Regions from separate parts of the Homo sapiens genome. Here all the other regions are linked to region 3. Evidence: promoter capture Hi-C in human tissues and cell types (Jung and others, 2019). All regions are on one chromosome and are shown on one strand. The core of a region is centred on a gene start or on the middle of the fragment in contact, and the rest is flanking DNA. Distances in the headings are between cores, read along the strand shown.

Region 1 (6,593 bases), core at 1,401-3,900, 1.1 Mb after region 3:
CTTTAAAACATTCCTGAGAGACATTAAACAAGGCATAAATAAATGACACAAGAAGTTCCTGAATCTGAGACTTAATACTTTGAAGTTGTCAGTTTTCCTTTAACTATCCTAATAAAAACCTAATCTTTTAAATAAAAATTTACAAATGTATTCTAAAAAGTTACATGGAAATACAAAGGGCCTGGACTAATTGCCAAAACAATTTTATAAATAAGAATAAGTTTGAAAATCTTTATGACTTTAGGACATACAAACGTACAGTAATTGAGAGTACAGTATTAGCTAAAGGACAGAGATGAACAGAAGAGAACAGAGAACCCAGAAATACACTCACACAACACTCTATTGTCAATCTCTTTTCAAGAAAGTTGCAAAAGTAGTAAAACAACTTCAGAAAACAGTGTAGCAGCTTTAAAGGTAGCATAAGCTTACCATATAGTTTAGGAATCTTACCTATTGGGATATCCCCAAGAGAACAAAAGCATATGTTCTAGAAATACTTACACTTGCATGCTCAGCAGTTTTATTTATAAAACCCAAACACCAGAATTTGTTTTTAAAACACACACACACAAACTAAAATTTCCGTGAACAGAAGAATGAATAATCAATTATGGTATATCTTAACATAAAATACCATTCAACAACATAAAAGAATAAACTATGAATACAAGTAAAAATATCATAGATAAATCTGAAAATCCCTGAGCCAAGTGGAAGAAGCCAGACACAAAAGTTGACATACAGTATGATTCCATTTATATGAAATGAAGAAGCTGCAAAACTAGAGTAAAAGAATGCAGATCACTGGTTATTGAGCCTGCGGTCTGAGGGGGAAGGTTCTGACTGAAAGAGTACAGGAAAACGTTATCAGGCAATGGTAATTTTCTCTATCATGACTGTGTTGGTGGTTTCATGACAGTACAGCTGACCCTTAAATAACACAGGTTTGAAATGCACAGGTCCAATTATATGTGAATGTTTTTCAATAAATATACTGGAAAAAATTTTTGAATATTTGAGACAATTTCAAAAAACCAGAATTCATTGAAATAGGTATGCCAAGAATGCATAACACAAAATATATGTAGGTTCTATTTTATCATTACAAAACCAGAGCGATATTTTCTTTTCTTTTTTTTTGTTTTTGAGACGGATTCTCTCCCTGTCGCCCAGGCTGGAGTGCAGTGGCATGAACTCCACTCACTGCAAGCTCCACCTCCCGGGTTCATGCCATTCTCCCGTCTCAGCCTCCCGAGTAGCTGGGACTACAGGCACCTGCTACCACACCCGGCTAATTTTTTGTATTTTTTAGTACAGACGGGGTTTCACCGTGTTAGCCAGGATAGTCTCGATCTCCTGACCTTGTGATCCACCCGCCTTGGCCTCCCAAAGTGCTGGGATTACAGGCGTAAGCCACCACCTCCCTACTCTTTCTACCCAATAAATATGAAGGTCTGTGGAAGCTCAGGGCCCTTCCTCACTAGAAGCAAGAAGCCCCCTGACCCCTTCTTTAAAACAGATTTATTTTGCCTTTGTTTTCATTTCTGCATTCGTTCCCCTTCGTTCAGTCCCATAGTAACTGTGACAGGAATATGGAGCAGAAATGGATGAAGGGGAGAAATTGAGGGGGAGTTGGCTTATGGGTTTGCTGCCTGTTGTTGTGCCTTTACACCAATGTTGGGTCCTTGAGGAAGGAAAGAACACAAATGAGAATGGGGTGAAAGAGGAACGTAAATCCTTGGGCTCCCCTACTCTCTCATCACCTACATCCAGAATTCAGAGCCTTTTCTTATTATCATACATCAGGCATTAATATTGGGTGTCCCCTTGCCAAAGGAAATTTAGGAAGGTATACGTGGCTTTGCCCAGTGAAACCTCTTTATGGTGGCCCTGAAGATCCTCTTCAAGTCCTTCAAAAGAAGGAAAGATTGGAGTATCAGCTGCAGGAAACTGAAATCCAGGCCCATCTCCAATTACAACAGGTTCCAGATGAGTCCGAGAGTTCTCGACACTCATTTCTCCTCCATCTCCTACTCCATCATCTCCATCTCCATCTTCTCCATCATCTCCATCTTCATCATCATCTCCATCTCCATCATCTCCATGTCCATCATCATCTCTATCTCCATCATCTCCATCTCCATCATCTCCATCTCCATCATCATCTCTATCTCCATCATCATCTCTATCTCCATCATCTCCATCTCCATCATCTCCATCATCTCCATCTCCATCTCCTACTCCATCATCTCCATCTCCATCTTCTCCATCATCTCCATCTTCTCCATCATCTCCATCTTCTCCATCATCTCCATCTTCATCATCTCCATTTCCATCATCTCCATCTCCATCATCATCTCTATCTCCATCATCTCCATCTCCATCATCTCCATCATCTCCATCTCCATCTCCATCTCCATCATCTACCGTCTCCAATCTCCATCTCCGAAGTTATGCCCACTTCCTCGAAGTTTGGAGCCACGCGAACTACACTGCCCAGAAGGCGCCGCGCCGTGAGCCGCGATGCTTGGCCAATGAAAAGAGGTCTACCCGAGAGTGCGACGCGCAATGGGCGGGACTTCCGGCGTCTCCCCTCGGCGGTTGCTTTCGCTGCCCTCAAGAGAACTCAGCTTGCCGGAAGCTGGTTGTTCGCTGCGGCGACCAGCTCCGGAAAGCGCGGTGGGGACGCGCTGTGTTCTCGCAGCTCAGAGGCGGGTCTGAGGCTCGGTGGCGGCGCCCAGGGTGGCCCGGGCCCTTTCCTCGGTCGTTGTCTCACCGCCACAGGCTCCGATGGCGGCGGCCACGCTGAGGGACCCCGCTCAGGTGAGCGCCGCGTCCTCCCGGCCTCCCCCGAATCCTAAAGCCCTGTGAGGGCCGCCTGCTCAGGTCCCCGGGTGCAGAACTGTGGGGCGTTCGTGGGCGGCGTCCCGTTTCTGACACGCAGTGTGATGGGGTGGCAATGGAGGGCAAGGGGCCCGGCTCGCAAAGATGTGAGGCGCATTCAGCGAGTCCCGAACCTGAGGCCTCCTGGTGTCTGTAGTGGGCAGCTTGGGAAGGGACGAGGCGCGTGTCGAGCGACAGCCCGAGCAGCTGCGCTTTCATCCTGAGGGGGCCACAGTGGCCGCGGAGGGCTGGAGACAGAAGAGTGACAAGATCTGTTTCTCAAAGTTTGCCAAAGGCCCTTCAAGTCAAAACAGACTGGGGTGGGGGTGAGGCGGGTGAAGACAGACCTGTGAGTAGGTAAATTCAGTAGACTAGTGGAGAGTCTACTGGGACTGGGCCACAGAGGAGGGGAAGTGATCAGATCTTGGATGGATTTCAAAAACTGAACAGACGGGAATTCCTGTTGCATCAGATGTGACTGTGAAAGAAAGTAGGGAATGAAGAGCCATTCTGGATTTTTATTTGTATTTTTGTTTGTTCCTGAATATCAGGAAGGATGGAGATGGGTAAGGCTGTGCAGGGAATAGGTTTTGGGCATGGTGATCCTGAGATGTCCCAGAGTGGAGGTGTCATGTCCACATGAGCAGCTGGAAGGCCTGGGGCTCGTATTTAGGAGGGAGAATCTTAAAGTTTTCTTTCAGATGGTCCCTGAGGTGAGGGAAGGGAGAGATGGGCCTGTAGGATGGGGCAGCCTCTACAGCCTGGAGTTTCGTGGTCCGAAGTGATTTTGTCTGGTGCCTGCAGGAATGGAGGGTTATAGAGTATGAACACCCAGGACTGGATGGAGACCGCAGTGTTGGGTAGTATATAGGTTTGCCACTCCAGGCTTAGTAGTTCCTCATGTCCAGTCCATATGGAGAAAAGGAAAGGTCAGCCAGGCTGGTGGAGCAGCACCTTTGGTGCCTAAGTTTCCCTAGCTATCAGCACAGGTGGGATGATCAACTGCTCCAGTAGAAGGGAGGGCTCTCAGCAGGATGGTCTTCAGGGGAGTATATAGCAGGCAGCCAGATTGCCAAAAGGAAACCCACATTGTCTTTCTTTTTCTTTCTTTTTTTTTTTTTTTTGAGACAGAATTCTGCTCTTGTGATCTGCCCACCTCGGCCTCCCAAAGTGTTGGGATTACAGGCTTGAGCCACTGCACCCAGGCAGAAACCCACATTTTGAAAACCTACCAGTTTATTTGCACTGAAAATGTTGACAGAAGCATTAATTATGTGTACAGTAAGAGTTGATATTTAGTCCTAGACACATAAGAATGAGTTTGATACAAACAATAGTCCTATTGAGTGAATACCATTATTGCCATGTTGCAGATGGCAATACCAAGGCACAGGGAAGTTGAGCATTTTTCCAAGGGCACACAACAGGTAAGAGGCATCACTAAGAACCAAAGCCCAGATTGCAGATAGTCAGGCACACCTGACTCCAGGCTAGACGAGGGGGCTTGGATGATCCTTTGGTAACATCACTGTCTGGTTCTCATGGTCTTGATTTTCCATAGGTTCTTGTGACTTCAGAGTTAGTTATAGACCATGAGAAGGTAAGTGGAGGATGTCTCAGGCCCTCACCCTCCTCAACTCCTACCTACATGGTCTTCAGAATTATGGTGTCTTGGGACTCCTTGCTGGCTATTCTCCCTCCCCTTCCATTTGAGTTCCCTGCAAAATGGTCATACAGTCAGGGTCCTGAGTCCAGACTACATATTATTATTTATTTATTTATTTTTGAGACGGAATTTAGCTCTTGTTGCCCAGGCTGGAGTGCAATGGTACAATCTCGGCTCACCGCAACCTCCACCTCCCAGGTTCAAGCGATTCTCCTGTCTGAGCTTCCCAAGTAGCTGGGATTACAGGCACGTGCCGTCACGCCCGGCTAATTTTGTATCTTTAGTAGAGACGGGGTTTCTCCATGTTGGTCAAGCAGGTCTCAAACTCCCAATCTCAGGTGATCCGCCCACCTCTGCCTCCCAAAGTGCTGGGATTATAGACATGAGCCATCACGCCTGGCCCAGATTATATGTTATATGGAGAGGTTCTCATTTCTGGCAACCAATGACAGGAGATTTAGAAGGCATAGTGATCAACATTAGAAAATACGTGGAGGTAAGGTTGAGCTGGGAATGCTTAGGCAACCTTAGATCTCCATTATGACTGGGGGAAGCATCAGCAGGTATAAGGCAGACCTGAAGTGGTTGGCTGAGGAGCTGGGCCTCTATTGTTTGTATTTTTGTTTGTTTGTTTTTTCCTGGATATCAGGAAGGATGGAAATGGGGAAGGCTACACAGGGATTACGGCCCAATCTTAACAAGCTTTTTCTGCTTTGAGAACACCTGTAGGGTTAAAGGTGGAGGCTGGGAGTCCAGCAAAGAGGCTACTACAGTAGTCTGTGTGAGTGCTGGACCAGAGTGGTGGCTGTGGACGTAGGAGATGTGGTTGAAGTCTGCGTTTTTTTTGTTTTGTTTTGTTTTTGTTTTTTTGAGATGGAGTCTCGCTCTGTCGCCCAGGCTGGAGTGCAGTGGCATGATCTCGGCTCACTGCAAGCTCCGCCTCCTGGTTCAAGCCATTCTCCTGCCTTAGCCTCCCGAGTAGCTGGGACTACAGGCACCTGCCACCACGCCCAGATAATTTTTTTGTATTTTTAGTAGAGATGGGGTTTCACCGTGTTAGCCAGGATGATCTCGATCTCCTAACCTCATGATCCGCCCGCTTTGGCCTCCCAAAGTGCTGGGATTACAGACATGAGCCACAGCGCCTAGCCAGAGTCTGTGTTTTTTAAGTAGATATGGGCAGATTTTCTAAAGTGTAGGGTGGGAGAAAGAGGTTAATGGTAAGAGTAATTTTCAGTGGGAATAATTAAGTTAGGTTTTGGCCATGTTGATATGAGATGTTCCAGAGACCCTTGAGTGGATTCATTGAGTGGGCACCTGGACAGAGAAGTCTGGAGTTCAGGTGAAGGGTTCAGATTGGAAACCCACATGATACAGTTGGTGTATGGACCAAATGGAGCAGTGGAGCAGATTTAGGAGGGAGCATCTTGAGGTCCTATTGGTAATGCCATTAGGTAATAAGGGAGAATGTATAGGGGCCAAGAACTGGGTCTCTTGCTTGGATACCTGGATGGGAGTGGTGGGTTTCACAAGGACATGAGGGAGAATGGTGGCCATGGGGAAAGGGATGTAGGGGTAAGGAGGGTCTGACTAGTGGCCAAAGTTCCTGTGGGGATAGACATGAGATGGACATGAAGATGAAGCTATAATGAGGTAAGATGACAGGAAGGCAGGCACTGCTGCTTATTCATCCAACTGTGGGATCACAAGGCTTTTGTTTTTACCTGGACCTGGGGAGTTTCTCAGGCTGCTGGATTAGCTCAAGATCAAATGAGGTCATCTGAGAGAATTGCTGGGCCTGGTTTGGGAGACGTGGGCTTTTTTTTTTTTTTTTTAAGATGGAATTTTGCTCTTGTTGCCTAGACTAGAGCGCAATGGCAAGATCTTGGCTCACGGCAACCTCCACCTCCCGGGTTCAAGCTGTTCTCCTGCCTCAGCCTCCCGAGTAGCTGGGATTACAGGCATGCGCCACCACCCCCAGGTTAATTTTGTATTTCGGGTAGAGACAGGGTTTCTCCATGTTGTTCAGGCTGGTCTCGAA
Region 2 (7,194 bases), core at 632-3,131, 1.0 Mb after region 3:
AAAAGAAAAAAAAAGTTTGTTTAGTTTCTGTTGGTAAATATCTAGAAATAGAATTGTAGGATGGTAGGGATGTATTGTTGGTAAATGATTAACATGTTTTTAATTTTCAGTTTTTTCAGAGACGGGGATCTCACTATATTGCCCAAACTGGTTTTGAACTTATGAACTCAAGTAATCCTCCCGTCTTAACTTCCATGTAGCTGGCACTACTGAACAGCTTTAACTCTTCCAGACCTTCAGTTGGGTGGTTTTTTCTTTTCCTTTCGTTTCCTTCTTTCTCTCTCCTTCCTTCCTTCTTTTTGTAATTTGATAAACCAAATTTCAAGACTTTGGCCAAAAAACAGTCTTCTCCTTTACTGAATATCTCAGTGCTCCATTTTATTTTTCCCTCACCAATTCTGCAGGAGAGATCACAAGACTATGTCCATATCTTTATTTGTGGGGGTATGATTTTCAGCTAACATAGCTGCTAAGTGATTTAATTTACAATTATAGTGGTAGAAAAATAGCTCTAACTTCTGAGGTTTTGTAATTTATTGTAAAAAGCGGAATACAGGACATTTAAAGTGACCTGACAAGGTCAATACAGGACTGAGGACTAATTCATTAAATACGTCTTACGTGTCTTAGAGGACCACAGACAGCTAGCAACCCTACTCCTAATGTGTCCCATGCACTTAGTATTGTACCTGGCATCGAATGAGTGTTCATCAAATATGTTAGAGTAATAAATACGACAGCACAGTTTCCCTATTCAGCTTTACTTTTCTGGTAACTCTTTTAATATATAGTCTTTACCTCTCCCTTCAAGCTGTTAATGCACAATGTTTTCAAGTTTGAAAAAGAATCAGATTTTGGACACCAAACTTGAGTGTGTCCAAGGTTCCAGGACAACCTTAGCTTTTTTCCTCCTATCACAAATATGTTTCTCTATAACTATTTTTGCCACTTTCTTTGGATATCTACATAATCGTCATTAATAGTTTCAGTAATAGCCATTTCACAAGAGTTATTCAGAGACAATTTCAACTCCCTGTGCAGACACTGTTGATACAATTTCAGGCGAAATGATAAATCACTTTCCACTAATGAGATGAGATCATGCATTCCCAAACCTTTATCTCAGGAGTAAGATGCTTTCTTTGCACAAGGGCTTTGACTGGTGGAAGGCCACACTATTCTGGCAGATAATGGTAGATAAGTCGCTTTTCCTTTTCAGTTAGGTTTCAGTCTCTTAAAATAAGTGGAAAATATCTCAGATATAAAGTAATAAGTATCATGTGAATAAAGTGTTGCTGGGTAGGCTGAAAGACAATAACTGATTATTCAGAAAGGAAAGATATTACTCCTCAAACTCCCCATCATGCCATGTCTGGGTCTTTTCAATGTGCCCAGCAGAGCACATTGAAGATCATAAAACAGTCTCCAGAGCTTCGTTCTGTGTGTATTTGGCAAGCACAAAAGAGCTGACCGCTATGCGTGGAAGACCAGTTCTTTATGGTTGGCCATGTTCCTTCGGATGTTCGTCTTTTGGGAACTTGCTGTGCTTTACAGAATCTGAAAGGACAGGTCTCTGAAACATTTCTCTGACTTGTTCTAGACTGCCTTCCGGGAAAATCTGGATGCTTGCCGTTTAAAAGCCAATGAAGCCCCTCCACGTCCTTGGAGCCCCGCAACTGCATTTCTCAAAGCCTCAGGAGGATCCTCCTGGCTTTCATCCTGAACGCGAGTTAACTTAAGTTCAGAAGCGGGGCAGGCAGTGGCCTGGGAACTACATTACCCAAAAGACACAGCGGCGGACACAAGCAGCGAGTGTAGCCAATGAAGGCCTAGCAGAGCGGCGTCTACGGGGGTTCGCAATGCGTGTGGGCGGGACTTCCTGCAACGCCTCCTGGGGTTGTCAATATGGCTGCGTTGGGATCTGTTCACCTTCAGGCTGAGTCGAGACTGAGGTGAAAAAGCGGAAAAACGCGAGAAAAGGTTTCCCCGTTGTACAGAGGCTAGAGTGAGGCTCGGTTGAATCGGTTGCAGGCGTTGGTGCCTCTGTCAGCGTCCAGGTCACTGCCGCTCCCGCCCCGCTCTTCCCTGGCTGTGCTGGCGGAGGCTGCGCCGATGAACCTGACTGAGGTGGGTGCCGCGTCCCAGGGCGCCCCGCCCGATCCCTCCTCCGAGTGCCGAAGCCCCGAGGAGGGGCCCTGCAGGTCAGGCCCCTGTGTCCCAAAGAGAGGAGCGTTCTTGTGTGGGGTACCGGTGTCCGCGGTGCTGTGAGGCGGGGGAGCTCCTGTCAGGGACCTGCACGTGCGAGGCTTAGAGGTGCTGCAGAGCGGGCGGCACTGGGGAGCCCGAGCGTCTTTGTCTCCACGGAGCTGAGGGTGAGGCGGAGTCTCGCCTGGGAGGGCAGCGGAGCTGCTGAAAGCCGTAGAAGGCTGTGCAGGAAGGGTTATGCCCAGAGGTAGACGTTTAAAGTTGGGAAAAACAGGATGTTAAACCAGGACAAGGGGACCGCTGAGGAGACCCCTTGAGTTATGGTAGGGATGGGCCAGAGGGGTTGCAGTAGAGGGGAAGTGTGATGAGATTCTGGATGGATCTCAGAGATAGAGTCGACAGGATTTCCTGCTGCATCAAATGTAGCAGTGAGGGTAGTGAAGGGTCTATTCCATGGATTTTGTTTTGGCCTGAAAATCTGAAAGAATGGAGTTGGAGAAGTCAGCTTAGGGAGCAGGTTTCAGAGAGGATTATGAGTTGCATTTTGGAGGGCTGAGTTTTGGAGGGCAGATCATGGGTGGGTCCATAAGCCTGACGCTACCTTTAGAAAGGCGCAGACCTGTCATAGGAGGGATTCTGGCTCATATCTGCAAAAACGGAGTTCTGAATGGGTTAAGGAACTGGCCTAGGCTGGAGACTGAGGTGTGAGGTGGTTTAGATTTCTGCACCTGCAGACCCAGCAGCCCCCCAGGCCCACTCTGTGGAACAATAGGAAGGTCATCCAGACTAGTGGGGACATTGGGTCCAGACGGGGGTAGGGCTTTCTCACATCTAGTCAAGGGCCTCCAGCAAGCTTCCAGCAACTGAATTTGTAGCAGGCAGGCCTGGTTGCTGATGGGACCAGTAACTGACCTGCTTGCTTATCCCCTCCCTGCAACTTATTTATTTATGAATGTGTAAAACATTTTTTTTTTTTTTGAGACAGAGTCTCGCTCCATCGCCCAGGTTGGAGTGCAGTGGCGCGATCTCGGCTCACTGCAAGCTCCGCCTCCCGAGTTCAAGCAATTCTCCTGCCTCAGCCTCCCGAGTAGCTGGGACTACAAGTGCCCGCCACCACGCCAGGCTAATTTTTTGCATTTTTAGTAGAGACGGGGTTTCACCGTGTTAGCTAGTATGGTCTCTATCTCCTGACCTCATGATCTGCACGCCTCAGCCTCCCAAAGTGCTGGGATTACAGGCATGAGCCACCGCGCCCGGCCGAATGTATAAAACATTTATTTAACCACTAATGAACCAGTATCCTTCTAAATATGTACACATAGGTCGGCAGTTAGAAATGAATGTAACCAATAGTTAAATTTATTCACTTAATAATTGTTGAATGTTGATTTTTCTTTTTTCTTTTTTTTTTTGAGACGGAGTCTCGCTCTGTCGCCAGGCTGGAGTGCAGTGGCGTGGTCTCGGCTCACTGCAACCTCTGCCTCCCGGGTTCAAGCGATTCTCCTACCTCAGCCTCCCGAGTAGCTGGGATTACAGACATGCGCCACCATGCCCATCTAATTTTTGTATTTTTGATAGAGACAGGGTTTCACCATGGTTGGCCAGGATGGTCTTGATCTCTGCACCTCGTGATCCGCCCACCTCGGCCTCCCAAAGTGCTGGGATTAGAGGCTTGAGCCACCATGCCCGGCTGAATGTTAATTTTTCTATTTGCTTGCAATGGAAAGTTTTATGTATCACATTTCCTTAACACCGTAAGAAGTGGGAAAAATACACACCCAAAATTTCAAAACCCTTCCATGTCATTTGTACCGAAAACATGTAAAAAATATTTAATCCAGTAGAAAGAAATTGCTGATACATAGTGTGTACTACTTATATTTGATGCCCATATAAGCCCTATTAGTTGGCAATCCTTTTAATCTCTATTTTACACATAAGGGCACCGAGACTTAAGGAAGTTCAGTCCTCATCAAGACACTGAACCCTGAGGACTTACTGTGTACCCTCAGATAACTTTGCTCTAGTTGCAGGGCCAGAGGTGGTTGTACAGTCAGCCTGTAGGATGCTGCAATGCTGTCTTAATCCTCATGGCCTGCCTCTTCCCACAGGGTTCATAGCAGTGGCAGCAATGCTTATGGATGCTGGACAGGTGAGTGGAGAGTGTTTCCAGCTTTCACCCATCCCAGATGGTTTCAGCATGCTGATATAGGGAATGGTGTTATCCTGAGACTGTTCACCTTTTCTTCTCTCTCCCTTGGGTCCAAGGAGAGCCTGTAGTTCCACCAGACCTGGGTTCCAAACTCAGTGCCTGGTTATATAGAGTGGTTCTAGTTCTCACAACTGATGGTTTGAGATTTGGCAAGGCATCTCAAACACAGGATCTAGAATGTTCAAATGCTTGGTGGTGAGACTTAGATGGGATGCTTAGAGAACTGTAGCTTAATGTTCTAGCTGGCAAGGATAAGGAGCACAGCAGCAGGGCAGGAGGTCGGGGCATGCAGGGATCAGGCATGGAATGGCAGCCTGAGGTTGTCTAGGTTTTTGTTTTTGTTTTGTTTTGTTTTTGAGACAGAATCTTGCTCTGTCTCCAGGCTGGAGTGCAGTGGCGCGATCTCAGCTCACTACAACCTCCGCCTTCCTGGTTCAAGCGATTCTCCTGCCCCGGCCTCCCGAGTAGCTGGGATTATAGGCACCCGCCACCATGCCCGGCTAATTTTTGTATTTTTTAGTAGAGATGGGGTTTCACCATGTTGGCCAGGATGTTCTCAATCTCTTGACCTCGTGATCTGCCTGCCTCGGCCCTCCCAAGGTGCTGGGATTACAGGCTTGAGCCACCACACCTGGCCTTGTTTTTTTTTTTTTTTCCAGACAGAGGCTAACTCTGTCGCCCAGGCGGGAGTGCATTGATGTGATCTCGGATCATTGCGACCTCTGTCTCCCAGGTTCAAGCAATTCTCCTGCCTCAGCCTTCCAAGTAGCTGGGATTACAGGCATGAACCAACACACCCAGCTAATTTTTGTATTTTTAGTAGAGACAGGATTTCACCATGTTGGCCAGGCTGGTCTCGAACTCCTGGCCTCAAGTGATCTGCCTGCCTCAGCCTCCCAAAGTGCTGGGATTACAGGTATGAGCCACCGTGCCCAGTGGTTCTAGGTCTTTAATCTGAGGGGGGTAGTAGCTAGGGAAGGTTTGAGAAAGAAAAAAGAGGTGATTTGACCTAGATTCTTTTTTTTTTTTTTTGAGACGGAGTCTCCCTCTGTCGCCCAGGCCAGAGTGCAGTGGCGTGAACTCGGCTCACTGCAAGCTTCGCTTCCTGGGTTCACGCCATTCTCCTGCCTCAGCCTCCCAAGTAGCTGGGATTACAGGCACCTGCCATCATGCCCGGCTAACTTTTTTTTGTATTTTTTAGTAGAGCCAGGGTTTCACCGTGTTAGGATGGTCTCGATCTCCTGACCTCATGATCTGCCCGCCTCAGCCTCCCAAAGTGCTGGAATTACAGGCCTGAGCCACTGCACCCAGCCAGATTTGACCTAGATTCTAAGAGGCTTCCTCTGCCTGCAGAATGGAGGACAGAGTGAGAGTTAGGGAAGAACCAAGGATACCTGGGTGATAATTCCTGCCACAGTCCAGTGGAGGTTGGTGGTGGCTGGACACGAGTGGCGGCTGTGGAGGTGGGAGGGGTGGGTGGCTTCTGTAGGTTTTGATCTAGAGCTGCTCACATTTTTTGATGTACAGAGCGAGGAAGCTCGGGAGGTAGGATGCAAGAGGGAGTCAGGAATGGCCCCATTGTTTTGGCCTTGTTGAGAAGGTTGGATGTTCCAGCAACTAAGATGTGGTAAATTTTGTAGTAGGGGGAGTTTAATAGAGCATATGAAGAACGAGGTTTGGGCTAAGTCAAAAATGTTCCAGAGACTCGAGTAGAGGTGCCAGACTGGCAGTTGAACACACAGGAATGGAGTTCAATGGAGGTGTTCAGGATGGAGACATCTACTATATGATAGCCAGCGTGTACACCATGGTAAATCTGTGGGTCAGATTTAGGAATAGACATCTTTAGATTCTGGAGGCAATGCTGTTAGGGAGAAGGAAGGGGAAGGAAGGGGCTGAGGACTGGATCTTTCTGTTGGGCACCTGGATGGGGTTGCTGGGCATCACAAAGACAGATGAGGGAGTGGATGGACTGAGGATATGTGTGTGTGTATTTGTGTGTTTATGTTGGAGATGGCCTTTGGAAAATAAAGGCTTTTGAGGGGGAGAGTGCACATAAAAGTTGGATGGTGAGGCATCTCCACAAAAGAGGTGAGATGATAGTGAGGTCTGGGAGGGGCTTAGTACCCTATTATGGACTCAACAGGGTTTTGTGGCAAATATTGGTTGTACCTGGGTAGTTTCACGCGAACTCTGAGACTATTTTGGCAGAAGATGGGATCATCTAGAAGCATTGCTAGTCCTGGGGTGGGGATGGTGTTGGGGAGGTCAGTGTATCTGGGCTTTGGATTAGAGTTGGGGGATAGAGAAAGTCGTGACTGCTTATGGGACAACATATACATGTAGAAGGGGGAGACAGCCAAGATCTGGAACTCAAAGGAGGTGTGCAAGAATATGTGGGTTTGGAAAGCTGAGGTCAAAGAAAGAAACAGGATTGGGTTGGGAGACGTTCAAAGCAATGTTTCCTAAACATTGCATTCTGGTCATTCTAGGGGCAAATACGATTCTGGTTGCATTTGTCATGCACTGCAGGATTTCATGTGCAGAGTGGCATGGTAACACGCCATGGAAATACTCCCAGTTGGGCTGTGGTGGTTGTTAGTGTTGCCAAGAGTGGAGGTGTTGGATACATGAGGGAGGTGCCATCCAAAGCCTGAGTGGAGGAGCATGAATAGATGGTTCCACCTCTGGCACTGGGCACTTAAGGGAGGAGGGTGAGTCCAAGTTTGGTTATCTGAGAGGCAAGATCTGGGTGACTCTAGGGAAATTGAGTGACA
Region 3 (6,651 bases), core at 136-2,635:
GCGAATATGTTTGGCTTCTTTTTTTTTCCAGATAAAGGAACTAAAATAAGAACTGGAGGGTTTAGACTCAATGCCTATTAACTCTTGAATGTAGCTAAGCAATTATAAAATGGACAAGTAGAACAGTGAAAGGAAAATAACATACATGAGATGAGGGAGGCAATAAGAGAGGTTATAAAAGTGATTCTAAAATGTTAGTGTGGGGCTGGGCATGGTGGCTCATGCCTGTAATCCCAGTGCTTTGGGAAGCCAAGAAGGGAGAATCACTTGAGGCCAGGAGTTTGAGACCAGCTTCAGCAACACAGCAAGACCCCATGTCTACAAAATAATTTTTAAAAATTAGCCAGCTGCAGTGGCACATGCCTGTAGTCCCAGCTGAGAAAAGAAGACTGCTTAAGCCCAGGAGTTAGAGGCTGTAGAGAGCTATGATCACGCCAATGCACTCCAACTTGGGTGACAGAGGGAGACTTTAAAAAAAAAAAAAAAAGAGTTGGTGTGGGTCAGAATCACTATTGAACAATATTTTTTAAGACAGTAAATGTTTCTGTGAGACTCTAGAAAAGACAAATATAGAGTGACAGAAACCAAAGCAAATCATTGGTTTGACGGACTGTGCAGGAGGGAGCACAAGGGAACTTTTTGGGTTGATGGAAATGTTCGCTATCTTGATTGAGGTGATGGTTATGTGGGTGTATAAATTTGTCAACACTCATTAATAGCACATTTTAAAAATGCATTTTATTGACCATAAATTATGCCCCCAAAAGAGTGAATTTTAAAAAGATGATGGGGATTTCAAGATGAAAAGAGTTCCGGAGATGGACGGTGATGATGGTTGTACAACAGTGTGAATGTACTTAACACTACTGAACTGTACACTTGAAAATGGTGAGCACGGTAAATCTTGTATTTTACCACAGTTTTAAAAAATAAAAATAAAAGTGGTGTTGGAAGTGTGTGGTTGGATCTGCAACCTGCCTCAGTGCCTGGAGGACATGCAGGAGAATGAACCAGAGGAATATGCTGGTACAGTGGCAGCTATTCTCATGTGTCCGCTAGAAGTTAGAATGACATGGCTGCTGTCTTCCTCTGTGAAGCTTTTTATATCTGAAGTTTAGCTGAACACCATGGTGTTTTTTATATCTGAAGTTTAGTTGAACGCCATGGCTGAAGCCCATTATCAACTGAATGACATTTCTTAAATTTCTTAAATGTCATGCATTTACCTGAACCTTTTCATTTCTTAAAGGTGACCTTGGAAAAAGAAGGGCTTTTTTCCTTGTTTAGAGGATTAGGCCAGTTGATTGAGGGTGGGTCCTTCTAGAGCAACATACTTTGCTGATTATTCAAACTGCATGAAAAAGCTGAATGCTATAATGGACTGTGATTCTACCTGGTACATTATTTCAGCTACAGTGGCAGGTTTTACTGTACTTATAGCAACCAACCCCAGTTGACTTAAAGAGACTCAGATATAGCTTGACTACAGGTGGGCACCACCATGCTCAGCTAATTTTTGTGCTTTTTTGTAAAGATGGGGTTTCGCCATATTGCCCAGGCTGGTCTCAAACTCCTGGGCTCAAGCAATCCGCCTGCCTTGGCCTCCCAAAGTGCTGGGATTACAGGCGTGAGCCACCATCCCCAGCCTCAAAGTACTTTTTGCTGAGAATTTGATTCTGTCCTAATTTGCTGAATCATACATCATAGATTCAAGGTGATGTGCTAACAAGGATATCATTTTTAAATGTTGCCATGAAGTTCAAATGCACCTTTTCATACTTTAAATTGATATATGTATATAACCCTTAAACGTTTATGTTCATGATAATTCTGTTGAGACTTCTGGCTAAGGATGTTGCTATACTGGTATATAAAATGTGCACAATTAAACTCCAGTGTGATACTACTCATTTCAGTATATATGAGTGCTGTATTTTGTGCAGTAGCTTTATCTTAATATGGCTCTTTGTGAATGCACTTTATAGCATTTATTGAGGGTGAAAGAGCAGGAGGGAATTCTATGTTACGTATTTCTATAAAAACATTGGTCATTTATTCAACAGAACCAGTATTCCTAACATTTGTCTGGGTTTTAGATATGTTGTTCTGCAGATCTATTCACTGTAGTGATCCCAACATTATTGAAAATTACCAAGCTTTTACTGCTCTCACCAGTGAAAAACTGTACCTTCTTAAATTCTGTCAGCATGTCACATTTATTGTAATCAACAGTAACTGGATGTTTCTGAGGTGTTTTGATTGGACTCAAAAGTATTACAATCAGTTTGGAGACAAAAACACAATCTGCATTTTAGTTTAAGTATGACACTGATGACTTAAAAAAAAACTATATACAAACGTTCTATATAAAGTTTGCCTCCAAAGTATTTCTCTTTCTCTTTCTTTTTTGCAGGGGAGATGGGGTCTCATTCTGTTGCCCAGGCTGGAGTGCAGAGGCACAATCATATTATACTACAACCTCAAACTCCTAGGCTCAGGTGATTCTCCTCTGTCAGCCTTCTGAGTAGCTGGGACTACAGGCATGAGTTATTACGCCTGGCTGCAGAGGGATTTTAATATGTAAAAGTATTAACACAGTGTATTAACTTTGTGCCCACGCAAATCTCTTTTCTATCACATCCTTATGTTCTTCGACAGATTGACTTTTATGCTTCTCCTTTTAGAAACATAAAATTGTTTTATTCTTAGTTTTAAAAAACATTTGAATGTGTACCCTTGCTTATGCGAAGATTTATGACCTACTAGTCATAGCTAAATAGTCAACATTGTAAGAGCTGATACTTTTTGGTTCATGTGAGGTTTGGCATTCTTGCATTTATGTACACGGATGTCAATTGTGTGGACTTCTTCTGTATTTATGTTAACTAGCTTTTACTGAATTGTTGAAACTAAAAAAGTTAAAAACGTGCTTATAAAAAAAGGGGGGGGGGATTATGTCCAAAGAACCCAGGAGCCAGTTTGAAAGGGTGTCACTGGGCAAGTCTGGAAAACTATGAACGTTGTGATAAATAATGATAATGGGTAATAATCTGTTACAGGATAAAACAAGATTTATTTTATTCTGACCTGGAAATGAGAAAAAATATGCCACCTACTATTAATCCATATGATATAAATGAAGAAACAAATGGTGAAAGGGAGAAAGCTCTTCTTTACAGGAGTATGTGATCTAATAAATAAGAATAAAGTTTTTTTAAAAATCACTATTTTGTAACTATTAATCATATCTGATCCAAGAGAAAACTATCAATGACTTCTGAAACTAGCAGGTGAATAATTTGTGAGAAGCACAATATTTATATCCTCTCCAGGTGGACCATAAAATCATGGCTTGCCTCTATTTCTACAGTGCTTTCCCTCTGCCCACAGTGCAGAACCCAAACTTCATAACGTGGTTGCCTTTCCTAGCGTATCTTTTTTTTTCTTTTTGAGACAGAGTCTCTCTCTGTTGCCCCAGCTGGAGCGCAGTGGTTCGATCTCGGATCACTGCAATCTCCGCCTCCCGTGTTCAAGCGATTCTCCTGCTTCAGCCTCCCAAGTAGCTGGGATTATAGGCACGTGCCACCACACCCGGCTAATTTTTGTGATTTTAGTCGGGACGAGGTTTCACCATGTTGGCCAGACTGGTCAAGTGATTTGGCCGCCTCAGCCTCCCAAAGTGCTGGGATTATAAGCATGAGCCACCATGCCCGGCCCCTAGTGTATCTCTGTGTTCCTCCCTTTGCTCACTGACCTCAGCCACAAGGGCCATCCATTATCTCAGAGGTACCAAGGGCTCCCTGCTCAGGTCCTTCACACTCATTGGCTACAACTGGTATTCCCCAGCTACATCACACCTTCCATGTCTCAGCTGAAATGCCTTATCCTTGAAGAGGCCATTGGCCCTACCATGCACCCTGACTGAACCTGTTCTTTTTCTTTCACATATTAGCTCATGTCCAGTGTGTATGATTTCATGTCTATTTTCCCACTGCAGTGTAAGTTCCATGAAAGCAAGGATAATGTCCACCTGCCTCATCAATGTATACTGTGGCATATTCCATGGTGCATAATAAAAGCTTAATAAGTACTTGTTAACTGACTCCAGAATTCAAACAAACCGATACAAATTCCTTTAGAAAAATGGTCAAAGGACAAGATCATGTCCTTTGCAGGGACATGGATGGAGCTGGAAGCCATTATCCTAAGCAAACTAACACAGGAACGGAAAACCAAATACTGCATGTTCTCACTTATAAGTGGGAGCTAAATGAGGACACATGGACACACAGAGCGGGACAACACACATGGGCCTTTCAGAGAATGGAAGGTTGGGCGGAGGGAGAGAATCAGGAACAGTAACTAATGAGTACTAGGCTTAATACCTGGGTGATGAAATAATCTGTAAACAAACCCCCATGACACAAGTTTACCTATTTAACAAACCTGCACTTATACTCCTGAAGTTAAAAAAAATTTTAAATATTAAAATTAAAATTAATAAAAAAAGAAAAATGGTCAAAAGATACAGACATCTTTCCAAAGACAAAATACTTTCCTTAGGAACCACCATATTTGTACTCAGTCTAGCCCTATAATCCAGGTTGAATTTTTAAAGTGTTTCAGGAGGAAGGAGCAGCCACCTTTGTCAAATGCTGCTGACGAGCTGAGGAAAACAACACGTAAGACATAAGCTTTGAAGGTAGCAACCTGCAGGGAAGATCTTCTAAGACAAAGGGCCACTTCCAGCGGACCTGATACCTGCAGTGGCTGCTCCCTTCCCAATGATACCTCACTCACCTGGACACAGGCCTCCAGACACCACTCTCTCCACCATCCAGGGCTCTTTGCCTTGCTCTAGGAAGGAGATCACATCAGGTTTGGAAACGGCAAGACCTGGAGATGAGAAGAAACATGCCACCTGGTTATGGTGTGGGGGCCCCAGAATTCAGATCCAGGACCTGGTCATCAAGCAGGAGAGGCAGTTGCAGGAAGTGCCAGAGGAAGATGGGACAGTTGCCTGGGGGTAGGGGGATGCAGCTTCAGCCGACAGCGCCGCCCTTTAACCCCTCAAAAATGACCAACCAATCATAAGACTGAAAAGCACCCAAAAACTGACCAGGAAGGAACATGCCCAAGGATAACCTCCAAACTAACAGACGAGATCACCTTACCCAGTGAGACCAGGTTGCTGTAGGTCTCCAACATCACGTCTCTGTACAAATCCCTCTGAGCAGGTGCCAACCACTGCCATTCTTCTTGGGAGAAGACTATGGCCACATCCCTGAACAATTCTGACCCCTGGAATGACAGGCATGTATGATATATATGTATTTCAATGGTTCACAGTGGGATGAAAGGAGATGGGGCAGGTCTTTGCGGGAGGGGGGGTTGTTTTGTTGAACAAGAAGGGTGGGACTGAATGTGAAAGGTGACAGAAGAAATGGGGATGAGTAAAACAGAATGATCAAATTGTTCTCAAACATTCCTTTTAACTGCAAATCAATGCTCTGTGTACAGGTCTGGGATGAAAATTAAAATCAAGCTAAATGGAGTTTTCCTTATTGTTAAGAAACAGTGTAATAAAGCACACTGCCCACTCTATACTTGGCATACAATAAATTCTCAAGGTGAGACCTATCACTTCTATCTTTTGGAATAACAATAACAACAAAAAATATTTCTGATGGATTTTCCCCAAATATTTTATTTTTTAAAATTATGGAAACATGTTTTCTATCTTAGATACAGGATTTTCATGTAAGTCAAGAATTTCTTGGAGATGAAAGTTCATCATTATGTTGGAACATAACACAAGCATTTTTCTTCATGGGAAAAACCATGGAGATAACTTTTATTGAGTGCACAATTTTCTATCAAGTGAAACAACTGACTCAAACATCCTCTTATTTTGGATCCCGAGGTTGGATCAGATCTCTAAGGCTTTTCCAAGCCCTGACCACTCACCCACCTAGATGATCATCTCACTTGCTACATCGCTCACCATCCTCAGCTCTGTACTTTTCTTCCTCTTAAGCTAAAGAAACTAATGGAGGATGTCCCAGATTCAAATGCTCTGTCCAACGTCAAACTAGACTTTAATTCTGGCATCAAATTTTTGATGGATTCCCAGCCAAACCTCAATTACATATCCAATCATTAATCATTCCCAAAGCAGGACACTGTACCATGCGCTGAAACTGAAACCAACCAACACCACCTCCCCTGCTTTTCTATATGTGATTGCTCCTAAGCATTCATTCCATCTCTTCAAACTTCAGTTCTTACAAAGGATGCTCTCATTTCATACAGGGAAATGAGTTTCTCCTCCTAGCAGACGAAAACCATCAGGAGATGCAGAATGCTATAGAGAATAAATCTGTGGGCATTTGTCAGAGGGGAGAGGACAATGGGAGAGGAGACTCCTGCCTGGTCCTTTTATTCCCTAAAATGGGAAAGTCTGAGAACCAAATTTCTGGATGGAACCCAGGTGGAAAGTTTCAAGATAAGGAAAGCAAATATTTATGGGATTTAAAAACTCACAAGGGACATGACTTTTAGAATTTCAAGGGCTGATAGGTCCTCCTTCTGGTTCCTCTCTTGGGGAAGGGCAGAGTCCTGCGACGGTAGAGCTGGGGGAGGAAAGAGCAA
Region 4 (7,204 bases), core at 2,317-4,816, 1.0 Mb after region 3:
TAAATAGATTTTGATATCTCAAGGGAAAAAAAGTGATATTCCTATTTGTCTGCAGGGCAGAGCTGTAGTGGTCAGGCAGTCTCCTCAAACAAAGCCAAAACTGCTATTATATGAGCTTTTAGGAAGGCTGGCCTTCAGGGACTGAGGACTTTCAGAAGCAGCAGAGTTGAAAGACTGATGGACTTTCAGGTATGTTAGTGTAAATGCAACCATTTACCAACTGGCTTTCATAAACAGGATTACTGACAGGAGGCACTTGTGGATTAGTTGTTGCCAGCAGCCTGGGGCTGCCACTGATTGACCATCTTTAGTACTGGGCCTTACCCCCATTGGAAAAATTTTAGAATCTTGGCCTAACAATGATTTGCTAAGTTTCTGGTTAATTACTGGGGTGAAGCTTTTGCTGACTAGCTGACTTTTAAAGCATAGGTACACATCCCAAGTTATCTCTAATTAATGGTGGTTTCTTGTTTATGATTATGGATTTGGGGCAGAGATAAATTTTTTCCTTACTTGAACATAAGCCAGCAACTTAATTCTCATTCCCCATTTTTGGTTTCCCAACAGCCAGAATTTGTAAGAAATCATATGCTATGGTTTGGATGTTTGTCTCTTCCAAAGCTCATGTTGAAATTTAATTTCCAATGTTTGAGGTGGGGCCTAATAGGAGGTGTTCTGGTCATGAGGGTAGATCCTACCTGAATACCCCCACTTGAAGATGTGTAAATTCTCACTCTATTAGTTCCCAAGAAAGCTGGTTGTTGAAAAGAGCCTGATACACTCCCCACCCACTGTCCTCCTCTCTTGCAATATGATTCCTTCGCATTATAGCTCTCTTTCGTTTTCCACCATGAATAGAACCCGCCGAAGACCCTCACCAGATGCAGATGCCCAATTTTAAACTTTCCACACATCAACATTTTGAGCCAAATAAACATTTTTTTCTTTATAAATTACCAGCTTCAGGTATTCATTTATAGCAACGCTAACTGGACTAAGACATCATAAGTATTATCTAGATATTTGTTTGTGAGGATATGATTTTCAACTCATGTTGCCAATGAGTAATTTAACGGCCAGTTACAGTCTGAGAAAAATGTGTCTCCCACTGGTGATTCTTTGTAATATATTACAACCAGCTGATATGTAGGATATGTAGGCCATTCTGATAAGTCAATACAGGATTCAGGAAAAATCGTTATATATAGGTCATATTCTTAAACTGTGCCCAGGTCTTAATTAATAATTAGCAATGACACAGAGGGGACACTGCCATCAAAAGAAAAGATTAATGTTACAGTTCCCTGGAAATAAGAGGCACTGAACACCACACAGGCCACAAGAAACCTTATTACATACAGAGACTGGAAAGCAGAAAGAGAAAACAGAGTAACTGGAAGTATGTCTTTATAACTAAAGTGGCAGAGAATGATGAGGTAGAGATACCGTCGATGGGCAGGAAGGAAAAACACATTTTAGTGTTTGTGGTTGGGGGGTTTTATATGAGTTTCATGCACTTGAGTAAGTGGCTTGCAAGAAAAAAAGTAAACAACTTTGGTTCTATTAGTTTGACCCTGTGATTAATGAATATCAAACAGACAAATACAGAATCTAAGAAAACATAGAACAGTCCTGTATACACATAGCAGCTGGGAAACCTATTCCCAGTGTGTCCCATGCACCTATCATTGATCTGAAACCCAATACATATGTGCTCATTGAACATTTACTAGAGAAGTAAATACACATTATCACACAGCTTCTCTATTCATTTTTATCTGTGGCAAGTCTTTCAGTTTATCATCTGTACTTACCCCTCTAAGCAGTTAATGAGCAATGTTTTCAAGTGTGTAAAAAAATTACATTTTGGAAACAAAAGCATAGTGTGTCCAAGTGTCCAGCAGAGCCACAGGTTCAACTTCATTCTCTGACTTCTCAGAATTTGCTGTCTCTCACTCAAACATTGAGATCTTATCTTTTTCTCACATTACAGATCGATTTCTCTAGGGCTTCTGGTTTTTTTTCTTTTGGAATAACCTACATAATTACTAATAGATTTCGGTAATTTTTTTATTTCACAAGTGTTTTTCACATTTCGACTCCCTGTGCAAATACAGTTGTAAACACAGGTGAAATTTTAAATCACTTCTGAGGAAGAAGATAACATCATGGAATTCCACACCTTTTTTGAGGATAAGATGTGCATATGCTTCAACTATGAAAACGGTAGACAATGTTGTCCAGAAATGGCATGTATCAGCTGCTCTTGAGAAATAAAAATAAAATTCTAAGCACCCCCTAACTGACTGAATGGATGCCCTCTTGACCATGAGAACCCTAGAATAACTTTGGAAGCTGAATTCACCACTATAGAGGAACGGGAAATCAGACACACCTCATTATATCCCCTACCACACTACAATCATTAGGTTTTCTTCCCTAAGGGCTAAATAGAAATCAACCTTTTCAGAAGACTACTAGCTTATCTTCCAAGGTACAGAACAGAGAGAAGATGAGATTATTCATTCCTTCATCCTTCTCTGAGACATCTTCTTTATTCCCTTTTCCCCTCACGTGTTTACTCTATCTTATGTAAAATGTAGATTTACTGGGCACTAACTAAAGTTTCACATGTCTGTAATCATTTGTCTCACTGCCAACCCCTCTTCCTTTTTAAGGAAAATGTATAATAAATACTAAACCTCCTAAGAACCTCTTTGGAAAAACCAGCCACAGATGCTTCTGTGACTTACATTTTTCTGGATGTGCCCTTAGGCTGGTCCAGTAATCCTCCATGATTTGTGACTTATGCCTCAATCACTCATTTTGGTCGTCACTCTCATTTTCAGATAGGATTGTGATTCTTAAAATAAATGGAAAATATCTCAGATATGAAGTAGTAAGTATTATTAGAATAAAAGCGTTGCACCCTTCGTAGGAACACAATCGCTGACTCTACAGTCAGGTAAGATGTATTCTCTTTGATCCAGAGGCATAGCTTCACCCTTTCAACCTACTTCAGCGTCTCCTGTCATCCTTCCTACAAATTCCAGTCCATAGCCCTAACTGCGTAGTCTTTCTTTCTTCTTCTGGACCAAACATATTGAAGCTTACTAAACAGACGCCAAAGCGTAACTGTATGTGTATTTGAAAAGCAATAATATGGCTGGCAGGCATGAGTAGAGGCAGACTGCCTTTATGGTATGGGGTGTCTCTTTGGACCTGTAGTTATTGGGAATTAGCTGTGCTTAATAGAGTCTTAAGTAATAAGTTGCTAACATTTCTGTAAATATCCTATACTACAATCCAAAAAAATACCGTATGTTGCCTTTAAGAGCAAGCCAAGCCCCCTCCTGTCTTTGGAGTCGGGGACTCCGTTTCCCAGCTCCCCTGACAGTGCCACTGGGCCTTTATCTGCCATATAAGGACTGATCAACGCTCTAAGACAAGTCCGGAAGCGGTGTCGAAACTTCATAACCCAGAAGACACTGCAGCTCTCGGCGGCACGACTTACCCAATAAAGGCTTAGAAGGGGACGTTTGCGTGCGTGCGCACCGTCGGAGGGCGGGACTTCCGCCGTCCTCCTGGTGGTGGTCGTTTTGGTTCTGTGTGGTGTTTCACCAACTTCGGCCTATGGCTCTGTCTGACGTCACCGAAGTGACGGAACGGAAAAGCGCGAGAAGCGGCTCGGTTCCCACCACGGAGAGGCGGGAGTGAGTCAACTGACAAGCGCTGGGGACAGTGGCGTCCTTGTCTTGCCTTTGTCGCTCCCGCCCCGCTCTTCCCTGGCTGGGCTGGCGGAGGCCTTGCTGATGAACCTGACTGAGGTGGGTGTCCCGTCCCAGGCTCCCCCGCCCGACCGGTCCTCCCAGTGCTGAAGCCCCCTGAAGGGGCCCTGCAGGTCAGGCCCCTTGTCCCGAAGAGAGGGGCGTTCCTGTGTGGGGTCCCCGTATCAGCCGATTTGATGCAGCCTCAGAGCTCCCGTTAGGGACCTCAGGTTCAGAGCATGGAGGCGCTGCCGAGTGGGCTGTGTTGGGGCGTCAGGGGTGTGTGTTGTTTCTGCGGGAAAGAGAGGGTTTTGTGAATTCTCGCTTGGAATGGCAACCTGAGCAGCCAGTAACCATGGAAGGTTGTCAAGGGAGGGACAGTTGGAGGGGGCAGGTCCAGAGTTCGAAGTTTCAAGTTAGGAAAACCAGGTTAGGAATGGACACAGGGAGACGCGAAAAGGCCCTGAGGCCACTGCAGTAGACCCAGGAGAATTATGGTTGGGGCTGGACCAGTGACAGTAGAGGGAGATGTGATGAGATTCTTCATAGGCCTGAAAGATAGGGCCCGTAGGTTTTCCTGGTGCTTCAGTTATGTCTGAACAAAGGCAGTGAAGAACCGTTTCAAGTGTTTGTTTTGTTTTTTGTTTTCTGTTTGAACGTTTGGAAGAATGGAGTTGGGGAAGTCAGCATAAAGAGCAGATTTCCGGGAGAAGATCACAGGTTGGATTTTGGACATGGTGATTCTCAAATGTCTCAAGATGGATATGTCACACAGACAGGTGGACATAAAGGTGTGGAGTCTGAGGAAGGGGATTGGGTTGGCGATACCAGACGGATGGAGGGCTTGGACTGGGCCAGAGAATGGTCTGAGGATCAGATTGAGTAGGTCGGTCTCGGGTTTTTTTTGTTTGTTTGTTTGCATAAATTTAAGGAGTCAAGTGCAGTTTTGTTATATGGATATATTTGCATAGTGGTCAAGTCTGGGCTTTTAATGTATCCATCGCCTGAATAATGTACATTGTATCCATTAAGTAATTTTTCATCACTCATCTTCGTCTCATCCTTCTACCTGTTTGGAGTCTCCAATGTTTGTCATTCCACACTCTTTGTCCATGTGTACACATTATTCAGCTTCCACTTGTAAGTGAGAACATTTGGTATTTGACTTTCTGTTTCTGAGTTGTTTCATTTAATAATGGCCTCCAGTTCCATCCACATTGCTGTAAAAGACATAGTTTCATGCTTTTTTTTTTTTTTGTGGCCTAGTGGTATTACCTTGTGTATATATATGCCACATTTTCTTTACCCAGTCATACATTGATGGATAATTGGTTAATTCCCTATCTTTGCTATTGTGAATAGTGCTGTGATAAAAATACATGTTTTTTTTAATGTAATGATTTATTTTCCTTTGGGTAGATGCCCAGTAGTGGAATTGGTGGATTTAATGGCAGTTCTATTTTCAGTTATTTGAAAAATCTTCATACTGTTTTCCATTGAGGTTGTACTTATTTACATTCTCACCAACAGTGTGTAACCTTTTTCTCTTCTCCATATCCTGGGCAACATCAGTTGTTTTTTGACATTTAAATGATAGCCATTCTGACTGGTGTAAGGAGATACTGTGGTTTTAATTTGAATTTGTCTGATGATTAATGATGTTGAGCATTTTTTTATATGCCTGCTTGCGATTTATGTGTCTTCTTTTTGAAAAATGTCTGCCCTGTGCTTACTGTTTTTTTTTTTTTTTTTTTTTTGAAATGGAGTCTCGCTCCGTCGCCCAGGCTGGAGTGCAGTGGCGCGATCTCGGCTCACTGCAACCTCCACCTCCCAGGTTAGTTCAAGCAATTCTGCTGCCTCAGCCTCCCAAGTAGCTGGGATTACAGGTGCCCACCACCACGCCCAGCTAATTTTTTGTATTTTTAGTAGAGACGGGGTTTCACCATGTTGGCCAGGCTGGTCTTGAACTCCTGACCTCAGGTGATCCACCTGCCTCGGCCTCCCAAAGTGCTGGGATTACAGGTGTGAGCCACCGCGCCCAGCCCTGTGCTTACTGTTAATGAGATTTTTTGTTGTTGTTTTTTTGTTATGTTTTGTTTGTTTGTTGTTGAGTTCTTTGTAAATTCTGGATATTAGTACCCTGTCAGATGCATAGTTTGCAAATATTTCATCCCATTTTTCAGGTTGTACATTTACTTGGTTGATTAGTCCTTTTGCTATACAGAAGCTGTTTAGTTTAATTAGGTCCTGTCTACTTTTGTTTATGTTGTTTATGCTTTTGAAGTCTTATTCATGAATTTTTTTGCCTAGACCAATGTCCAGAAGGGGTTTCCCTGAGTTTTCCTTTAGTATTCTTCGTTCAGGTCTTACATTTAAATCTTTAATTCATCTTGAGTTGATTTTTGTATATGGCAAGAGAAATTGGTCCAGATTCATTCTTTTTCATATGGCAATCCAGTTTTCCCAGCACATTTTATTGAAAAGTGTGTCCTTTCCGTAGTGTGCATATTTGTTGCCTTTCTCAAAGATCAGTTGGCTATAGATATGTGGCTTTATTTCTAGGAACTTTGTTCTGTTCCATTGATCTATGTGTCTATTTCTGCAGTCAAATGCTTTACCACTGAGCTGTACACCTTATGTGTCTATTTCTATCCATTACCATGCTGTTTTGGTTACTAACAACTTGTAGTATAATTTGAAGTCAGATGGACTTAATTTGAGGGAAATCTTGAGGTTGTCATTTCAGGTGGGCTCTGTGTTGAGAGAACAGGGGGCTGAGACTTGGGGGCCAGACCATTGGTGGCTCCACAGACATCATACTCTGTCCAGAACGGTGCAGACCTGGCATAACAGGGATTCTGGATTGCATCTGTAAAAAGGGAGGCCTGGACTGGGTAAGCATATGGCCTGGGATGGAGGCTGAAGTGTGAGGTGGTTTCGATCCTGCACCTGCAGGCTTGGTTGACCCTCAGGGCCACTCTCTGTTGAACAAGAGAAATGTTATTGAGGCTGGTGGAGTAGCTGGGTTCCAGATCAGAGCACTGCTTTTTCCCCTTCTCTACATGTCAGGGCTACAGGGGATGATCTACTGCTCCAGCCAAGGTCTCCTGGCAAGCTCACTTTAGAAGATTATGTAGCAGGTAGACCTGGTTGCAGAAAGGACCAGTACCTGACCTGCCTACTCTTCCCTTCTCTATAACTCATTAACTTAATAATGTATGAAACACTTATTGATTTAAACCCCAATTAGACAGTATCTTTCTAAGTGTGTGCAAACAGATAGGCAGTTAATAGTGAAGTCATTATGTTAAATTTCTAAAAGTGAGCCGGGTGTGGTGGCTCACACCTGTAATCCCAGCACTTTGGGAGGCCGAGGTGGGTGGATCACCTGTGGTCGGGAGTTCGAGACCAGCCTGACCAACATGGAGAAACCCTGT

Evidence for each region. Contacts are between HindIII fragments. The study calls those that stand out against the background at their distance.
Region 1: a contact is called between the fragment with the promoter of ZNF773 here and a fragment that was not itself captured in region 3, in 1 of the 25 tissues and cell types used here (spleen).
Region 2: the fragment with the promoter of ZNF17 here is called in contact with a fragment that was not itself captured in region 3 in 1 of the 25 tissues and cell types used here (dorsolateral prefrontal cortex).
Region 4: the fragment with the promoter of ZNF548 here is called in contact with a fragment that was not itself captured in region 3 in 2 of the 25 tissues and cell types used here (aorta and stomach).

What each region holds. Positions count from the first base shown.
Region 1 is chr19:57,497,288-57,503,880 of GRCh38, forward strand. It overlaps ZNF773 (zinc finger protein 773), which reads left to right and starts at 2,651. Exons shown (of 4, transcript NM_198542.3): 1 at 2,651-2,826. The coding sequence starts at 2,794. The HindIII fragment of the contact is 9,164 bases long and covers 1-6,593 here.
Region 2 is chr19:57,409,280-57,416,473 of GRCh38, forward strand. It overlaps ZNF17 (zinc finger protein 17), which reads left to right and starts at 1,882. Exons shown (of 4, transcript NM_001330617.2): 1 at 1,882-2,127; 2 at 4,317-4,357. The coding sequence starts at 4,337. RefSeq lists enhancers at 1,886-1,995, 2,076-2,135 and a silencer at 2,379-2,581. The HindIII fragment of the contact is 3,744 bases long and covers 542-4,285 here.
Region 3 is chr19:56,385,201-56,391,851 of GRCh38, forward strand. ZNF582 (zinc finger protein 582) reads right to left here. Exons shown (of 5, transcript NM_001320371.4): 2 at 6,544-6,632; 3 at 5,175-5,301; 4 at 4,801-4,896. The coding sequence starts at 6,552. It also overlaps the pseudogene SLC25A36P1. Among named protein-coding and RNA genes, the nearest start is that of ZNF582, 5.0 kb to the right of the region's middle. The HindIII fragment of the contact is 6,001 bases long and covers 1-4,386 here.
Region 4 is chr19:57,386,288-57,393,491 of GRCh38, forward strand. ZNF548 (zinc finger protein 548) reads left to right here and starts at 3,567. Exons shown (of 4, transcript NM_001172773.2): 1 at 3,567-3,827. The coding sequence starts at 3,813. RefSeq lists enhancers at 3,125-3,204, 3,345-3,824. The HindIII fragment of the contact is 10,310 bases long and covers 1,754-7,204 here.